Linked DNA regions of Homo sapiens: region 1 is linked to region 2. Evidence: promoter capture Hi-C in 16 types of primary human blood cells and fetal thymus (Javierre and others, 2016). All regions are on one chromosome and are shown on one strand. Each heading gives the region's core, a stretch centred on a gene start or on the middle of the fragment in contact. The rest is flanking DNA. Distances are from core to core; before and after follow the strand shown.

Region 1 (2,740 bases), core at 124-2,623, 1.0 Mb after region 2:
TTTGCACAGCATGCTGATCTATAGAATTTCATTGACAGGCTTGTTGAAACAGATGAAGTCACTCTGCATTACTTAGAGTCTCAGCTTTTGTGAGTTTGCATGTAGTGAATTTATCTCGTATGTTATTCATTCTTACAGAAATTGGCTTATAGGGCTTGATGACAGGGGTAACTGGTTCTGTATAGTCTTTCTACACTGGATGTGTGTGGTGCTGTTTAAAGTGAATATGTTTATGCTTTTCCATTATAATCTAGTTTAATATGTTTAAAAGTTTAATATGTTTAAACGTTTAGATTTTGGGGGAAAAAGTTTATGTCTATGCCAGTAACACATACTTTACTGAACATATTACTCTTAAAATGTTAATGTCATATAATCTCCATGTGTACCTCTGGACATATCTATAACAAGGTATCCTGACATTTTCTACAAAACAAAGCTTACTTAGAGCACATATTAGAAAAGGGATCTTTTCTTAGGTGCTGTTGAACAAGTTGAAATAATTTCCAAATGAGTAGTAACTTTAACCTCTGAATCTTTACTGTGAATTAAATTCTTATTATGTTTTTGTTATTTTTAATGTAAATGCTGATTAATGTACATTTGTATTTTCTCTTTAAAGGATATGTGGGACTAGTAAACCAAGCAATGACTTGCTATTTGAATAGCCTTTTGCAAACACTTTTTATGACTCCTGAATTTAGGAATGCATTATATAAGTGAGTATTCAAAAAAATTGTATACATAAAATTGATTTAAGAATGAAAATATCACTTTTAACAAAATTTATCTTCTTGCAGTTATTTTAAAGTTTGGGGCATTTCTCACACCATAAGATATAACTTCTTTCCTTACGTAATAACAAAGATCTTGTGAAAAACAGGTATATGAAAAATGTGTGCGGAGAGAGAATCAGAAGTATATAGAGAGCAAAAGGATAAAATTGATGAGATTTACATGTAGGGTAAAAAGCTTCCCTCTCTTGTAGCCTTAACACCCTTTATGAAGAAATAAATAACTGCTTTTGAGAGAATTCGAATATATAAATCCATACTCTCCTTCCACCTCTCAATTTAAGTATCCAAAGTTTTTTTTTAACTTGCAAGTTTTGTTTCTAATTAAAATATAATACTTACAGCTTGTTTCATGTGCGTGTGTGTGCGTGTGTGTGTGTGTGTTTCCTTCTAAAAGACTCCATATACATTAGATAGTTTAAAATGCTCTATGGAGGAAGTCTATGTTTAAGTAAACCCTGAAGTCAGACATTTATTTTTATGAATATCCTATTATGACACATTTAACACACCTTTGCTTTGTATATTTTCTTTAAGATAAACACATAATTTTTTAGTTTTTAAGGATACTTTTAAGTATGAGTAAACTGATTTTTTTTTCCTTTTTTGTGTTACTTTCCACTAACATCTTTAAATTACTGTAAATATGTATTTAGGTTATTTTTGGAACTTTTAATATTGCTGATTGTGTTACTCAACATTATATCACCATTAGATTAATCTGTCAGCTTGTTATCTGAACTTACAGAAGTTGATGTATTTGTCATTCTGTATGCATGTATTGCCCTGTAGTGTTTAAATGCTAGGCACTTGGTGGATAGAGAGGGAATTAGTAATAAGATCTTTGTTCTTGAGTAATTTATAAGTCTTTCTACAATAGCAATATGTATATGTTTGAAATAGTTTAAATAACATTTAAAGACAGCCAAATACCATTAGAGTTTAAAGAGAAGAAAGGTTGGTGAAACTTGGAGAAGAAAGTAAGCTTCAGGTAGGTCATGAAGCTAGATATGGTTTGGCCAGGTTGAGAAGAAAGAGAATACACTGTGCAGATAGGAGGCCTGTCAAAAGTGAAAGTGAATAATAGGAAGGGCTACCTGAGTGTTAGTCATTGTTTGTATCAGATAGTGTTCCGAGCACTTTATATATAGACTCACTTAATTCTCATAGTAACTGTATGAATTTTATGCTATTATTGTCCGCATTTTACAAAGAAGGTAACTGAAGGCACAGAGAAATATAGCTTTGCCTGAAAGCACACTGCTAGAAGTTGCACCTAGTAGATGCCAGGATTCACTACTCTGTTCTGCCTGTGCACTAGCGGATGCCAATAAGCACAGTGTGTTGCGGGGGGCTTCAGGAGATCAGCATAACCAGAGTTTTGTCAGAGTACTGGAGGATGAGGTTAATAAATAGAGTTCAGAGCCTGCTCTCAAAACTAGCACAGACCAGATCGTTGGACAATGTGCCTGTTTTAGGGAGTATGCACAGGAATGGGGATCCTGGGCACTTGTTTAACCATCTGTTTTAATACTCTGAAAGTGGACTGTAAATTTACAGCACTGTAGAGGAAATTAAGAGCATAGCCAGGGCTATTCATCAGCAAACATGTATTGGACATTTACTGTGTGCTAGGCATTCTTTTAGGTATAAGGATTAGAGTGATGAGTAAGAGAAAGTACCTCATTTAGAGCTTCCTTAGGTAAACCTATATATAAGCTCATTTCACAGAATCATGTATGCCAGGTAGAAAATAAAGCTGAGTAATGTGGAGGGAGTAATTGTCAGGAGAAGAGGAGGGGAGGGTCACAGCTTCAGGTAGTAGACAGTAAGGGCCTCCCTGAGGACATTCCAGGAACTTCACAGGAACAAGCCCTCTAAAGATTTACAGTAAGAGCATACAAGGCATAAGAAGCCAGAAGTGTAAAGGTCTTCAAAAAACAAAA
Region 2 (2,700 bases), core at 25-2,524:
TTAATAACCCCACTTTAGAGATAAACAGACACAGGTTAACACATCTCGCTAACACCTCTTGTAAGTGAAAAACCAAGTTCAGAGCCCAAAAAGTTTGACTGCATAGCCCATGTGTCTAGCCATTACTTGGGTGTTCCTGAATACTTTTAATTCCCCAACTACTAAAAAATCTCGTTACTAGGAGTTGGGTTATGCAGCGAAACGGATGAACAATGGATTATAACTGCCAGAAAGTCGAGGGTCTCATACTAGCAACAGCATAAAGCCCTGCTTCTTATTGGGAGCAAAAAAGCAGATTCTCCTTCCACAGTCTCCTTTTGGATTTTGCAACGGAGAACTCTGTGGAGCTGCTGGTTCACGTAAAAGATCAGGATCCCTCTCGTTGCCAGAGGACACAGAAGAGTAGGAAGCTTTTGTTTTCAGAAAGAAGGTCCTCAACCCCACCTCTTCGAAGGTGTTTCCCCGAATTTCTCGAGGACAAAGAATCTGGACTCCTTTGAGAGTAAAGTTTCCTTTCCACTCCCTGAAGAGCGGGGAAAACTTCCGTCTTTAGTCTCCTTCCGGTTAAACTGACAAGTATCACAATCCTTTCTCCCCTATCTTCGGGCGGTTCCGGCTGGGAACAATACCCTCAGGGTCAGGAGGACAGGATCTGAGTGCAGGCCAGCCAAAAAGGTGGGAACAGATGCTCCTTCCAACACCTAAATGCTTTTTTAAACGGTCACCTGGATGTGCAGCCAGGGCCAACTATCCCTCAGCTCCTCCCTGTCACAGGTGCGCGCTGCCCACAGATTGCCACGACTGGGGGGCTCCCTACCAGTCGCAGCCCACCCTCGCCTCAGGTCTTCTCTCGCGTCCCCGGGCGGCCGCCTGCGCTAACGACCACATGAAAACGTCTCAGCACCCAACACCATCTCTCTATTTCATCTCCATCAGCGATGGAGAGAACGGATTTTGCCGCGGCTGGGCTGCACAGCAGCGCCGCGGTCCACAGCAGAGCCCGCGACCGCCATCTTAGGCAGTTCCAGGAAGCGGCCATTTCAGAGCGCACCGCTTAGCCGCGGCGGCGGCTCTGCTTCTCACCTTCACCGAGGCCTGAACAGGGTCAACAGCCAGTCGTCGTGGACTGGAGGGGGAGGGGAGAGAGGGAGGGGAATGAAAAACAAAACAGAGAGGAAAGAAGGATTCGGGGACAGGGTGATGCTCTCAGCTCAGGGATATCGCCTAGGCCATCTCCATAGAGATCCGATTCGCGGCTGGCGCGGTCGCCGGTCTGAAGATAAATTTAGCACTCTAGAGCACCCGAACCCTACAATCTTCACGAGCGACTCTGCCGCCGCCCAATCAGCGCCAGATTTGCGTCCCGCCACCAATCCGCGCTGAGCAGCGGGGCGGGACCAAAGGAAAGGACCAAGCTCGGTTGAGGCGCGGCCCAGCCGCAGCCGCAGTCACAGCCTCAGCCGCAGCGGCCGTGCTACCTAGGTGATAGCGGAGCGGCTGGGTAGGAAGCAATTGTTCTCAAACTTCACTAGCCCCGTCGGCGCGGACGCTTGTCGAGAATGCAGATTCCTGGGTACTGCCAGATACGGTTGGTGATCTTGTAGGGCTGGAGTGGAAGCCATGAATCTGCATTTTCATCATTTCTGGCCCTCTGCCCGGGCTGGGGTGATTCACGGGGATTCGTAGTGGCCCCAAAGGAGCACGCAGAACCTCGGCTGCTGTGCATTTATCACCTCTTTTGTTCCCGGAGGCCGCACCCCAGGTCCAGTTTACACAGCTGCCAACTCCTTTTCTTGGTTCCCACTGGAATCTAGGAAGAAAACTCGCCCTTTACTTCTCCGCCCCACACCCGACGACGGAGTGTCTAGAGGTCTGGTCGGCCTTGGCTGTGCGGAGGGCTAGGCCTGACGAGCGGGCGCTGATGCGGCGCAGACCCCGCCGGACCTCTTGGTCGGCCCGGGGTAGGCTGGGGAGCCGCGGGAACAGGACTGGATAGGGAAAGCGGCACCGCAGCGTCCACGGGCAAGCTGAAAGTCCGCTTGATGTCTTTGCATCACAGTGGCGCCCTCCCCGCAGGAACGCCCGGCCGCCTGCACCGAACGTTTGCCTGCAGGGAACGGCCAACCCGCCCTGAAATACTCTTTTTGTGGGCTGCAGCTTTCGGGTATTTTAAGCCATGGTTCTGTGCCCTTCCTTGTTTTCAAAAACACCACAGCCAAAGGCTGCGGGTTGTGTGCTTTCATTTTGTGTTAAGTTCTGTGGTGGAGACCTGGAGTCTGTTTTTCCAAATAGGCACCTTGAAATAGATACGCTTCTTAAGCGGGGAAAGTACGAGTAGGTCCTATTATTTGCAATGTTTTAGCCTTTCCAGACTCCGTACAAATGACTAAATGAAGATTGGATCGTATTTTCAGGCACTGCACCAATGATAGAAAATTCTCAACTTGGGGTCAAAAGCAAGGGCAGCTTTCGTTTTTCTTAAATATGCTTCTGATCAAATATCTAAAGTGTTGAAAGAAACCTAACCCTTAATAGCACAATTTACAGGAGTGCATAATTTCCTAGGACTGACATTTAGTTCCAAATGTTTTAAAGTCAATTACAACATCATCTCACCCTATAGTAAGCTGTCCATATATTCTCATTATTATTTTTAAATTATTTCTATTAAATCAGCTTCATTTGAACTTTAACCATAAA

The links. Contacts are between HindIII fragments. The CHiCAGO score rates a contact against its expected background, and 5 or more counts as called.
Region 1: a contact is called between a fragment that was not itself captured here and the fragment with the promoter of ZBED5 in region 2, in 1 of 17 cell types (activated CD4 T cells). The highest score is 7.5, in activated CD4 T cells.

Annotation. Positions count from the first base shown.
Region 1 is chr11:11,896,975-11,899,714 of GRCh38, forward strand. USP47 (ubiquitin specific peptidase 47) reads left to right here. Exons shown (of 28, transcript NM_001282659.2): 5 at 623-719. Among named protein-coding and RNA genes, the nearest start is that of USP47, 56 kb to the left of the region's middle. The HindIII fragment of the contact is 807 bases long and covers 971-1,777 here.
Region 2 is chr11:10,856,779-10,859,478 of GRCh38, forward strand. ZBED5 (zinc finger BED-type containing 5) reads right to left here and starts at 1,275. Exons shown (of 3, transcript NM_001143667.2): 1 at 1,084-1,275. ZBED5-AS1 (ZBED5 antisense RNA 1) reads left to right here and starts at 1,439. Exons shown (of 3, transcript NR_034137.1): 1 at 1,439-1,588. RefSeq lists enhancers at 941-1,320, 1,474-2,111, 1,621-1,710, 2,112-2,700. The HindIII fragment of the contact is 21,619 bases long and covers 409-2,700 here.